Linked DNA regions of Homo sapiens: region 2 is linked to region 1. The links are contacts of gene promoters, found by promoter capture Hi-C in blood cells and fetal thymus (Javierre and others, 2016). All regions are on one chromosome and are shown on one strand. The core of a region is centred on a gene start or on the middle of the fragment in contact, and the rest is flanking DNA. Distances in the headings are between cores, read along the strand shown.

Evidence for each region. The method cuts DNA at HindIII sites, captures the fragments that hold promoters and counts their contacts. A CHiCAGO score of 5 or more calls a contact.
Region 2: a fragment that was not itself captured here is called in contact with the fragment with the promoter of DEFB129 in region 1 in 10 of 17 cell types (megakaryocytes, naive B cells, M2 macrophages and 7 more); the score reaches 9.1 in megakaryocytes.

The regions. Positions count from the first base shown.
Region 1 is chr20:223,597-230,591 of GRCh38, reverse strand. DEFB129 (defensin beta 129) reads right to left here and starts at 3,334. Exons shown (of 2, transcript NM_080831.4): 1 at 3,246-3,334; 2 at 706-1,314. The coding sequence starts at 3,303. The coding sequence ends at 821. The HindIII fragment of the contact is 3,129 bases long and covers 2,030-5,158 here.
Region 2 is chr20:328,413-335,407 of GRCh38, reverse strand. It overlaps SOX12 (SRY-box transcription factor 12), which reads right to left. Exons shown (of 1, transcript NM_006943.4): 1 at 5,184-6,995. Among named protein-coding and RNA genes, the nearest start is that of SOX12, 6.4 kb to the right of the region's middle. RefSeq lists an enhancer at 4,489-4,783. The HindIII fragment of the contact is 2,358 bases long and covers 2,058-4,415 here.

The sequences.
Region 1 (6,995 bases), core at 2,085-4,584:
ACTCTCTCATAAATAATTTTTACATTGATTACATGTCAACATGATCATGTTTTGGATATATTGCATTCAATAAAACACATTATTGGTTGGGTGTGGTGGCTCATGCCTGTAATCCCAGCATTTTGGGAGACCGAGGCAGGCGGATCACGAGGTCAGGAGTTCGAGACCAGCCTGACCAACATGGTGAAACCCCGTCTCTACTAAAAATACAAAAATTAGCTGGGTGTGGTGGTGTGCGCCTGTAATCTCGGTTACTCAGGAGGCTGAGGCAGGAGAATTGCTTGAACCCGGGAGGTGGAGTTGCAGTGAGCTGAGATCACACCACTGCACTCCAGCCTGGGCAACTGAGTGAGACTCCGTCTCAAAACAAAACGAAACAAAAATATATTATTACAATTAATTTAACCTTTTTCTGATTCCTACATATTCTATTTTGCATTTGGGCCTTTCCTCCCAAATACATGAGAAAAGAAAATACATCTCCTGATGCTTTCCTTACTGTTGCTCCAGGAAAAACACACCATATGAGAGACATAAATGCTTGCTACAGAGGCCTAATCTAGGCCATGCTTGGGACAAACTCGATGCTGTAGTCACCCTCCTGAGGCTTACTTTCTCCTGGGCATCTAAACTTAAACAATTCCATCCCTCCCTAGCTCTACCCCCTCTGTGAGGCTCTTGTGAGAATGATAATATTACATAAACTGTAGGTGCTCAAACAGTGTTTATTGAATGACTGATGACAGAGGAAACAGTTCTATGTCATTTTATAGATAGCAAAAATAGAGAGGAACTTGGAGTTTTAAGGGAAAGATCCACATTACTGCTCTTCTGCTTCCTCTAGCTCCAGTGATGGTGTTGGCAGTATGTTTGGTGGAGGTGGTGCTGGTGGTGGCGAGGCAGTGGCAGAATCTCTGCTTTCTTTGGTGTTACTCTTGGTAGAAGTAGCAGTGTATGTGATCTGTCCTGGGGTCATAGTGCTGATGGTGGCAGAGTTCATAGGGGTGGCATTTGGAATGATGACAAAGTTGGTATTAGCAAAAAAGCTAGTGCTTTTGATTTGGGGGAGAACAGATAAAATATGTTTTCTTTGTATCACAGCACTAGAATTCTTGGCAGGTTTTAGCATTTCTTGGACGTCTTCATTAAGTACATTTGGTGTTCCATATTGCAGGTAGTTTTTAATCAATTTAACCACTTTTGGTCCAACACAACATTTTTTCATCTTGCATTTCTGTATCTCTTTTTCATCCACATTGCAGTGATCCCTGCATCTCCCCAAACCCATTAAACAGCGTCTCAAGCCAATAAATTCTGTATAAAAAAAGAGAAAGCCATTGAGCCAAGGTTAATAACTAGAGATGATGTTAAAACTGCTAGTGGGAGATGGATAGACTAAGAGAGAGTTTACTCATACTACATTTTAAGCCCAGTGTTTAGGAATGTTGATGAAGGCAAATGGGCAGGCTGAGAGCGTCTCTATGCCCCTCTTGAATCCAAAGTAAATTTCCTGTTTAGTCTGCCTTCCTTGAGTAACTTTAAGAAGCAAAGGGCACGTAGATGATAGAGTAATTATTTGCTTTTAGGATGGAATTTTAGACCTTCAACTTAGCATCTTAGGTACTTGTCAGACATCACTATCCCATCTCCATAATCTTGGGAAATACCAATGAGAGCCAAGTCCATCATAAAACTAATTTAAGAAAGAAGTTCAAAAGAGAATCAATAGAATTTTCAGGAGTCTTATCTTTTCACCAAACTCAGTAGCCCATGACTTCTCTCTTCTCAACAATCACTAGATCTGTGATTCCTGAAGCATGGTGTTCTATCTCTTCTAGCCTCTTTGGACACTCTATCTCTCAGAAGTCTCATTCATTATCCTAGCCTTAACCTCATATCCACCAAGGTAACTTCTGTATTGTTATCTATAATTCTAAATTTCCTGCTCGGCTTAGTACCTTATCTTTATCTGCTGAATGACTTTTCCATCCTAATGTCTCGTGTTTCTTTTTTCTGAATCAAGAAAGCTTTTCTCCCTTGTTCATCTTAATAACCCAATGATTTTCCCTAAATTACAAGAGATTTATGTAGCATCTGCTAATTTTCAAAGCATATTTGCATACATTTCCACATTGTTTTCTCATCAAACGGGAAACAGAAAAATTCTTATATTGGAATCAGCTGCATTGATTAACCCCATTATACTCATGTGAAATTGAAGTTCAAAGTGGTTAAGTGACTTTACCCAAGATGACACAGCCATACTTGCTTATGGTACTACCCTTTTCCTAGGGTCCCAAGATAAAAACATTAGAAGATAAAAACATTAGAAGCATCTTTGACACTTCCACTTTCCCTGCCCCGAAACCCTTTGCTAATTTTTTCAAATAGCTGGATGATTCTTGTATTCTGAAACAAATCTCAGTGCTTCTCCTTTCTTTTCCAAAAACAATGGTTAATCCCCTGGCTTAGCCTTTTGCTATAATGCATTCCTAGATGCCCTTATGGTAGTTTGGGGGTTTTCAGGAAGACAAAGTCTGAGAGAAGCGATAAAGGCTCTGGAAAACCTGAAAGAATTCAAGATGGAGAACACAGGCCTGTTTACTTGATCTTGAAAGGGTTTTTTTTTGAGCATGAGGGAAGAACTTCCTCCTTTCTACACCAAGCACAAACTGATAGGAAACTTTGCTTCAAGAGGTGGTTTCACAGGAAGGGGAACAACACACACTGGGGCCTGTTGGGTGGAGGGAGAGCATCAGGAAAAATAGCTAATGCATCCTGGGCTTAATACCTGGGCGATGGGTTGGTAGGTGCAGCAAATAACCATGACACACATTTACCTATGTAACAAACCGCACATCCTGCACAAGTACCCCAGGACTTTTTTTAAAAAAAAAGGGCTTTTAAGATAGAAATAGAGCTAAAAGGAGGTAGACCTGGGCTTAGTCTTAGCATGATAGACATATACAGGGCAGGAAGGCAGCATTATATTTTGGATAGTTTCTGAATAGACAAAAAATACCCTGCTTTCTCTGTAGCTTCCTGGGTGTTTCCACTGGACACAATCTGGCAGTTGGGGCCTATGAGAATGTATCAGTGCATGACTGATACAATAGGTAAGCTCTTTAGCCATCTTTTTGAACAGCTAATCTTTCAGTCTCCTCTCTTTGGGTTTCCATTGTCATGGGCAGCCAAATCCTTGGTTCCTCTCATCTACCCATCTTAAACTTGGGAATCCACATTACCTGTGTTCACCTGGTACTGTAGCATGAGGCTGGCAAAGATAGGAAAAAGGAGCTTCATGGTTGGGTGCCAGAGAGGAAGCCTTGAATCTGGGTTGATGCTCCTGAGCTCCAGCCTTTATTGGCCTCTTCGTGGCCTTATGCCATGAGCAGTGAAGTGCAGCCAAAGCAGGTTTGTATGCTGCTCGCAGTATAGTTGTGTTTTTTCTGACTCTGTTTGAAAACACCCTTTCTTGAACACCTCTATGCAACAAATTCCTTGCTCTTGATCCTGGAGGAAAACATAAGATAGGTAAGATGAGAAAGAAAGAGCAAGCCCTTTGCATGTGTCTCTCTTTTGCTTTTTTGAGATGGAGTCTCACTCTGTTGCCCAGGCTGGAGTGCAGTGGCGTGATCTCGACTCACTGCAACCTCCGCCTCCCAGGTTCAGGCAATCCTCCTGCCTCAGCCTCCCAAGTAGAGTATCTGGGACTACAGGCATGCACCACCATGCCCAGCTAACTTTTGTATTTTCAGTAGAGACGGGGTTTCACCATGTTGGCCAGGCTGGTCTCAAACTCCTGACCTCAAGTGATCCGCCCACCTTGGCCTCCCAAAGTGCTGGGGTTCCAGGCATGAGCCACCGCACCCAGTCGCATGTCTCTTTCTTAACGTTGGAGTAGGATAAGAGTTAGATATTTGATTCACTGATTGTCAGCCCAGTTATGCTAAGGTTGGCACTTAGTGCATGAGAATTAGAAGAGCTAGAGGAGAGTGAAGATTCTGCCTTGTTTGTACTGGTATGTCCAGTGGCCAGCATGGGTATTGGATCAACATACAAAGTCAGTACGTTTGTTAAACAAGTTCGTGGGAGACAGCTCTTGGCACATCTTTAACTTTTGAGTTTACAATGATTCCCACATCCTTTTAAAGTAGCAACTAAAAAAAAACTTTTTTAACTTCGCGGGTATATGTGCAGGATGTGCTGGTTTGTTACATAGGTAATGTGTGTCATGGGGGTTGGTTGTATAGATTATTTCATCACCCAGCTATTAAGCCTAGTGTCCATTAGTTATTTTTCCTCATCCTCTCCCTCCTCCCACCTTCCACTCTCCAGTAAGCTCCAGTGTGTGTTGTTCCCCTCTGTGTGTCCATGTGTTCTCATCATTTTGCTCCCACCTATAAGTGAGAACATGCAGTATTTGGTTTTCTGTTTCTGCCTTCATTTGCTAAGGATAATGGCCTCCAGCTCCATCCATGTCCCTGCAAAGGACACGATCTCATTCTTTTTTATGGCTGCATAGTATTCCGTGGTATATATGTACCACATTTTCTTTATCCATTCTTTATCCAAATGGCCAAATGATGGGCATTTGGGTTGATTCTATGTCTTTGTTATTGTGAATAGCGCTGCAGTGAACATATGCATGCATGTGTCTTTATAATAGAACCATTTATATTCCTTTGGGCATATACCCAGTAATAGGATTGCTAGGTCAAATGGTATTTCTGACTTTAGGTTTTTGAGGGATTGCCACACTATCTTCCACAATGGTTGAAATAATTAAAAGCAGCAATTTTTATAGTGTACTGCTCAGATTCCTTGGTCGTAGCTGATTGATCCAGGTGTAACAATAGAACCAAGCCTACCAATCAGATGCTTTCCCCTGCTAATTTGGGACATTTCCTAAGAAACTCAGATATTGAAGCTCATTGGCTCTGAATATTATTAATTGTTCAAGTTTCAAGAGTTTCCCTGGTTCCTCGCCTTCCTGAAATTCATGTCTTCTTAGGATTTCATTAGCTACTATAGTATCCAATGACTCCTCAGTTTTGTTTAAATTAACTGTTATTTTTTAAAACAATAAAAGCAAATCTTATGAACTTTCACTTTATGAAATGTATATTTTACTTCTATGAACAAAAATAATCAAGCTTAGGCATATTTACTTACTACTTGTCAATATCAAGAGATGGAATTAACAGCCCTTTGGAATCAGTTAATCCTGAATATCGCATATTAATTGGTTTCTGGTGTTTTAAGATGCATTGAAATAACATTATTCACCTCATTGTGTCTTGCTAGTCCCAAAGCAATAAGAATATGGAAAGTACTGGTACAAAGAGAAGCACAGTTATTATGGAACAAAAAGTTGAGTTAATAAGAATTGGAAAGTTATGAAAAATTAAGTATGTTGCATGTATATATGGAATGAATCTATCAACAGTGTAGCATAATTTTGTAAAAAGACAAATTATTCACATGTGCAAAGTGTTGCATTTATGTGTATCAGTTGGGAAATGAAAAACACTAGCTATTTTCAACAGAAATATTTTTAATACTCAGAATTATGTGCTTATAAACTCTCTACAGAAGCTGACTGTGGGCTTGGTCTCCCAGAATGACTTCCAGAACATTCCAACAAACTGGCCCAGCAGAGAATCTGCTAGTTCTTTCATAGTCAGGAAAGTAGGGTGACAGGATCCCATGATTAGACATGCTGGACTTCAAGAACACACCACGGTAGCTGTAATATAAGAGCAAGGATATTTTTCTGCTGCTTCTACAACTGTCTGTTGAAACCCATAGAGCTAGGGATCAGACATTGGAATGTAGCAGAAAAACTCAACTGAGTTTAAAGATTTAAGATTTAATTTCCCTAACAATTTAGAACTGTCAAATTTTCAATTTCTTCTTGGGTCACATCAAGTAATGTTTATTTCTTCTAAATTTCATTTTTGGCATAAGGTCACTCACAATATGTCCTTTGATCTCTTTACTATCTATAGAGTTTGTAGTGATGGCTACGTGTTTTATTCTTCATATGGGTAATGTGTTTTCAATTTTTTCTTTGTTATTCCTATAGTGAATTAATTAATTGGTCTTTTCAAAATCAGCTTTTGGTTTTGTTGATTCTATGTTTGATTTTTATTTAATTATATTTTATTTTAAATATTATGAAAATTAAAAAATATTTAATTATTTTCTCCTCTCAGCTTTATCTTCCTTTCTTTGAACTTCTTTGAATAAAATTTCATTTTATTCTGTTATTGTTTTCTAACTTATTATTTGTGTTGTTATCTCATACATTTTCAGCTTTTCTTCAGTATAACCAAGTGGGTAAGACTCTAATTTTCCCTTTATATGCAGCTTTAGCTGGACTTCATAAGTTTTTATTTGCAGTGTTTTGTTATCATAATCATTCACTTAAAAATAAACACTTCAATTTCCACTGTGTCATCTTTTCTGACATATGAATTAGTTTGAACCTTGCTATTCACAGTGTGGTGGAAAGACCAGAAGCATCAACACTTCCGGAGAGCTTGTCAGAAATGCAGGATTTCAATTCATCTCAGAATGAGTCAATCAAAATCTGCGTATTAGGAAGATCCTCAGGTGATTTGTATGTACTTTAATATCTGAGAAACATTGGTTGAGAAATGTGTTTCTTATCTGAGCATGTGGGGACATTTTAGTTATGAGGGAACTTCAAACAGTTTGTGGAAGATGACATTAAAATATAAAAATATAAAGATATAAACTTTATTTCTCAACATAAGCTCCATCAAGTTCAAGACACTTTTGTAAGCAATGGTACCAGCCACTTAGTCTATCCCTGAAGGACTGAGCTTCCTGGGAATTTAACCACATCAGTGTTCTTTTACATTATTAACTGAAGAAAAATTGGTGTCCTTTAAAGATTTTTTTTTAAGATTAGGAGATAAAAAGAAGTCAAAAGGAGCCATGTCAGGATGGCAATGTGGATGCCTAAT
Region 2 (6,995 bases), core at 1,987-4,486, 100 kb before region 1:
AGGCAAGGTGATTAGCCCAAAGTCCCACTAATTCCTCCACATGAGCAAAGATAAATAGCATGGGTGAGGCGGGAAGCATTGTCACTGGAGAGTGGCCTGGCGTAGCTGAGGATAAAGTGACCGAAGATAAATCTATAAAAGAGTGAGGGAGTCAACTGCAAAATGCCTTGAATTTCAAGAGTTTATCCTGAGGGTAGTAAGGGGCCATCGAAAGGTTTACAGCAGTGGTCAGGTTTGTGTTTTCAAAGGACCCCGGCTGGGCATGGTGGCTCACGCCTGTAATCCCAGCACTTTGGGAGGATGAGGTGGGCAGATCATATGAGGTAAGGAGTTCAAGACCAGCCTGACCAACATGGTAAAACCCTGTCTCTACTAAAAATACAAAAATTATCCAGGTGTGGTGGCATATGCCTGTAGTCCCAGCTACTCAGGAGGCTGAGGCAGGAGAATCGCTTGAACCTAGGAGGCGGAGATTGCAGTGAGCTGAGATTGCGCCATTGCACTCCAGCCTGGGCAATAGAGCGAGACGCGGTCTCAAAAAAAAGAGAAGACCCCTTGGAGGCTGGGCACAGTGTCTCACACCTGTAATTTCAGCACTTTAGGAGGCCAAGGCAGGAGGATCTCTGGAGGCCAGGAGTTTGTGACCAGCCTGGGCAACATAGCAAGACCCCATGTTTACCATACAAAAAAAAAGACTCCTTGACCCCTTGGGCTGCAGTGTGAAGACTCGGGATAAAGTCCAAATACCTTCAAGGTCCTTCTCACTCTTGCCTGTCACCCTCCTCTCTCCACACCTTCCCCGCAAGCTGGTTAGCTTCTGTGTCAGCCACTCTTACCAGGTCTTCCCATGTACTGTTGCTGGCATCTGTAAAGTCCTTTCCTTCACCTCACTCTTCCTTATCCTATTGTTCCAGTTATTCCTTCATAACAAACTGCCCCAAAACCTAATAGTGTGGACAACTGCCATCTCATTATGTTCGTGGACTCTGGGTCAGGAATTCAGACAGGATATAGAAGGGATGGCTTGTCTCTGCTCTGTGATGGCTGGGCCTCTGCTGGGAAGGCCCTCCAACAGCTGGGAGTGAGTTGAATTATGAGGGGCTGGAATCCCCTGGAAGCTTCTCAACTCATAAGTCTGGTGCCTGGGCTCAGCTGTCAACTGGAGCAGCTACCTACACATGGTCTTCCCACGTGGCCCGGGCTGCTTCTCCACATGGCAGTCTTGGCTGTTGGCCTTTCAACATGGCGGTTCAGCGTGACTTAGCCTTGGAAATCCTGCAGCACCATGTCTGCTGTGTCCTGTTGGTTACAAATGGATCATGAAGGCCCAGCCCAGATTCAAAGGGAAGGTAATTTAAAGGAGGAATGTCAAAGAACGTGTAGCCATGTTCTAAGGTCATCACATCCTACTGAGGTTTCATGCCACAGCTTAAACATCACCTCCTCCAGGGAATGACCTGACCACACCCCACTCCATTGTCTGGGTTAAACATCTCCTCAATGTTCTCCCAGACTCACTGTCCATCGCCAGCAAAGCATTTCCATTCCTGGGTTTATGTGTCTCCTCAGACCTGTGAGCTCACTGAGGACAAATCACGTTTTTCACTTTTGTATGCCCGGCACCTAGCACGCGGCCTGGTCAAGGCAAACCTTCCCCACCCTGCCCCCCACCTTTTTTTTTTTACAGGCAGGGTCTAACTCTGTCACCCAGGCTGGAGTGTAGTGGCATGACCATGGCTCACTGCAGCCTTGAACTCCTGGGCACAAGAGATCTTCCCAGCTCAGCCTCCCGAGTAGCTGGGACTATAGGCTCACGCCACTGTGCCTGGATACTTTTTTAAATTGTATTTTTTAGAGGCAGGGTCTTGTTTCCTTGCCCAGGCTGGTCTCAAACTCCTGGCTTCAAGTGATCCTCCCACCTCGGCCTCCCATAGTGCTGGGATTACAGGCATGAGCCACCATGCCCAGCCTAGACCCTTAAGAATGTTTGTTGAATGGGTGGGTGAATGTGCTGAGGCATGGAGTCCAGTCCAGAGTCATTCCTTCCTTATGAAGCTTACATACAAATTAGAGAGAGAGAGACAAAAAGTAAAAACTACAGGTGATAAATGCCAGATAGTGATAAATGCTATTCAGAAAAATAAAGCAAAGTAACAGGATAGTTTATGGAGGATGTTACTTTATATGGATGGTCAGGGAGGACACTGTGAGGTACTCCCTGTGCCTACTCTAGGGCGCCCTGGGAGCTGAGACCTGAAGGAAGTAAGACATGTGGCTATCTGGAGGAAGGGTATTTTTTTGTTTGTTTTTTGAGGTGAAGTCTCGCTTTGTCTTGCCCAGGCTGGAGTGCAGTGATGCGATCTCAGCTCACTGCAGCCTCTGCTTCCTGGATTCAAGTGATTCTCCTGTCTCAGCCTCCTGAGTAACTGGGACTGCAGGCATGTGTCACCACGCCCAGCTAATTTTGTATTTTTAGTAGAGAAGGGGTTTCGCCATGTTGGCCAGGCTGGTCTCGAACTCCTGACTTCAGGTGATCCACCCACCTGGACCTCCCAAAGTGCTAGGATTAGAAGCGTGAGCCACCTCGCCCAGCCGGAGGAAGGGTATCTTAAGCAGAGGGAAAAGCATGTGCAAAAGCCTTCAGGCGGAAGTGTGATTGGCACTTTTGAGGAACAGCAAGACCAGTGTGACTGGGCATGTGAGAAACAGAAAAAGTAGAAGATGAAGCCGAGGCTGAGCCACAGGCTACTTCTTATGGGGCTTTGCAGGCCATGCTGAGGACTCTGGCTTCTACTGAATGAGAGTCTTTGGAGAATTTTGAACAGTGGCAGGGTGTGCTGGGATTTACAGTTTAACCAGATCACTCCGGCTGCTGTGTGGACAATAAGACTATGAGTGGGGCAAAGGAAAACGCAAGGAGCCCTTCGTATGCCCTTATATCCTGGACCCAGAGGCCATGGAAGATGTGAGAAGTGACAAGACACAGGGCATATTTTGAAGGTAGAGCCAACAGGGTATAAGGGAGATGGCGCTGGGAGGAAAAGAGGCATCAAGGATAACTGAGAGGCTTTAGCCTTTCATTTCACATCAGCTGTGCAGATGTGGTCTGTGGAAGCAGGCTTGGGAGCACTGTGGAAACAGTTCATTTTTTGGCATGTCCAGTTTGAGGTGCCAATTAGATATATCAGTGGAGATGACAAGAAGGCAGCTAGTCTAGTCATGTCTGGGATGGAGATGTAGACCTGAGAATTCTCAGCTATGATACTTCAGCTTCCCAAGTAGCTGAGACTACAGGTGTGTACCACCGTGCCTGGCTAATTTTTTTAAAAAAAACTTTACTAGAGATTAGGTCTTGCTATGTTGGCCAGGTTGGTCTTGAACTCCTGGACTCAAGAAATCCTCCCACCTTGGCCTCCCGAAGTGCTGGGATTACAGGTGTGTGATAAGCAGAATTCTAAGATGGCCCCCAAGATTCCCAGTCTCTGGTGTAGCTGCCCTAGACAGCCTCCTCCCTTTTGAGTGTGGGCAAATCTAGTATGACAGCTGTCACTCTTATAAGGCTACAATATACTGCAAAGGTGAAGGGATTTTTTGCAGATATAAAATCCCACATTAGTTGATGCCTAATCAAAAAGGAGATTTTCCTGGGTGAGTCTGACCTAATTAGGGAAGGCTTTTTTTTTCTCTCTCTCTTTTTCCTTTTTTTTCTTTTTTTTTTTTTGAGACAGAGTCTTGCTCTGTCGCCCAGGCTGAAGTGCAGTGGCTTGGTCTTGGCTCACTGCAACCTCCGCCTCCCAGGTTCGAGTGATTCTCCTGCCTCAGCCTCCCAAGTAGCTGGGATTACAGGCGACTGCCACCACGCCAGGCTAATTTTTGTATTTTTAGTAGAGAAGGGGTTTCACCATTTGGCCAGGCTGGTCTCGAACTGCTGACCTCAGGTGATCCACCCACCTTGGCCTCCCAAAGTGCTGGGATTACAGGCATGAACACACCATGCCCAGCCAGGAGAGGCTTTTAAAAGAGAGCTTAAACCTTCCCTGAGCCAAGTGACTCCAAGCAGCAGAAAAATTCTCCTCTGGCCTTGACAAAATAAGTTGCAATATTGTGAGAAGGCTGGGGAGGCCCTGTGGGGGCCATGTGGCAAGAAACTGAGCAGCTTGTAGTAATCAAGAGTGGTACTAACTGACAGCCAGCAATAGAACAGGGATCTCTGTCCTATAAGCACAAAGAACTGAATTCTGCCCACTACCGTGAGAGCTTGGAAAAGGCTGCTGAGCTCCAAGAAGGAATGCGGGCCACCAGCACCCCAGCTGCTGCCTTGTGAGATCCTGAGCAGAGACCCAGCTAAGGCATGCTGGACTCCTGATGCATGGAGACTGAAATAACAAATGCATGTTGTTTTACACTGCTAAGCTTGTGGCAATTTGTTACGCAGCAATAGATGAGAAACAATACATCAGCGTATGGTGTTTTGAAAGCCTTGGAAGCAGGGTGGCTCACACCACCCAGGCAAGGGGCATGACCCAGCAATGAGTCAATGCATGAATGGAGTGAGACTCGAGTGGGACTCAGTTCCTTGGCCTGGGACACACCCCGACTCCCACCTCCCAACTGCACAGAACCTTGGTTCTACTCCTCTTAGCCACTAGGTGGCCCCAGAGACCCCATAAGGAGCTGTCTCCCCGACCTTTCAGGTCAGCATCTGAAATGGAAGGAACCAAAATGAGATGGTCCCTCTTCTAGTCCTATTACCGACTCCCAGTACAGCCCACAAAGGGGAAGAGGCTTGCCCAAGGTTCCACAGCTCTAGCATTATCTCCGGTCAGGCATTTTACCGTGCACCCCATTCCAGGCTATTCTGTAAGACAAACTCAGATGACGACCTCCCTCCCACCTGCTTTTACCAGGGGACGGACTGGCAGTGAGAATGGCATCAGCAGGGGGCCCTGGAAGGCCTTCGGGCTGAGGCTGGAGTCTCTAATTGACGTGACTGGTGTGCAGACTAGGAAAGTGTGCAGCCCCTAGTTTGGTGCTGATGGCATCGGTGAACAGACTCTTGACATTAGGATACATCCGACCGGCCTAGCTGCAGTTGCTGGGCCACTGACCCAATTCCCTTTGTCCAGTCTCTTGAACCCTCTGTTGTAGACTGGGTTTCTCTAGAAACAGACAATGAGACTGAGTTTGGGTTGCAAGATGTTTATTAGGAATAAGCACCTGTGAAAAGAAGAGGAAGAAGAGGAAGCAGGCCTGGGCATAGGAAGTCAAATTGTGCTGCAGGCCTGACGAAGCCCTGGCTGGCCTGGGCCTGCTGGGAGTACTGTCTGTCAGTGTCCGTCCCATGTTGGATTGAAATGACCAGGTGTTTATACCATGCCTCACTCAGACACCAGATACAGGCTGCCCCAGGAAGGGCGTGGTCTCAGGTGAAGTGGCTCTCTGCAGCTGCGGCCACCCTGATGGCACTTCCCATAGCTGGGGAAGTCCTCCCTTGAAGGGAGTTCTGGGGGCAGCTGTCCCTATCTTCCACACCTTCTCAACTCTACCTCCTCTTACTTCGCCAGCTTGCTTTCAACCAGAGAAGCTGAGAAGAAGCAGTCACTGTAATTTCCACACTCAGCCCTGGCTCCTACTGGGAAAACAGAGGCTTTGTCCCAGCTTAGGAATACACTGGATCTGACAGATGAGAATTAGGGGGAGGGGTGTCAGAGGGACAAAGGAGGGAAAAGCCTTGGACTCAGTTGTAAAACACCAGTCAGAACCTCAAAGACAAGAATCACTAGACTTCTGTTGCTCTTTGGTCATTCAGTTAATCTACTCTGCAGGCCAATGTGCGCCAGGCACTGGGACCAATCCCACCACTCCAGGCCCTCAGCTGGGGGCCTAACACAATCTGCAGATTCAAACAGGGAGGGAGAGGCAGCACCCCGAAGCCATGCTTCACCAGGAAGCAGAACCAAGCCCTGTCTCTGACCCTGGCTGCTTGCAGGCCCTCCTTTAAGTTGCTTTCCTGCCTGACCCCGTTTCCTCCTCTGACAATGGAGTAACACGATGGGCACCATGGTGAATGCTTCTCACCTCAAACTTCATTTCATCCTGTGAAGCAGCTATTATTATTATCCCCACGTTATACATATGGAAAGAGTCACACGGGTGCTCAGTGGTGGAGCTGGGCTTTGAGTCCAGACAGTGTGGCCCAATCTTGCTTCTTAGTCCTCATTAAAGGCACAGAAAGGCATGGCCAAGCCAGCCCCCTCGGACCAGACCTGCCTGCATACTTGTTTCATTTGGCCCACAGAAATTTTAAAATATGAGTCTCATTTTGAAATTAAGATGACTCAGAAACATCCATCCAGCTTTTCTTGAAAAATCTGGCCACCTGGCCACTGTGGACTGCATTCCCACAGGGTCACAACTGGCAGGAGGTAGGCCCCTTGAAGTGGGTCATGACACCACTGTCCACCCAGAGTCACTCGTCTATGTTACCTGCCTGGTCCCTACAGGGATGAGTTTGCTATTCTTCATGAAGGCCAGGGAGTCCTGACATAGAGGCCTAGACAGGCAAGGTGGCTTGCCCTGGGACACCCAGCTCGGGCCCAAATCACACGGACTTGAATCTGGCAAACTGTTTAGGGAGGGTTGAGGAAGAGCACAGACATGCAGAACCACAGGGCAAGGTCGGGGCAAATACACTTTATTCAGTCCTGGCATCAGACTGGCGGAGTCCTGCTGTGGGTGCCAGTGCCCCAGACAGAGGGACCCCACCCCTCAGCTACGAGACTAGTTCTCCAAGACCACAGACAGTGACATCTCTTCACTCACATGACGTTTTTTTTTTCATTGTCTTTTTTTGTTGTTGTTGTTTTTCTTAAAAAAAAAAAAAAAAAAAATAGAGCGCAAGAAAGGCCCAGAGCCGGAGCACCAAGCTTAAAGGAGGCAGCTGGTGGCTTTGTCAGCGACGGGAACGCGTGGGGCAGAGACCTGCAGAGACCCTG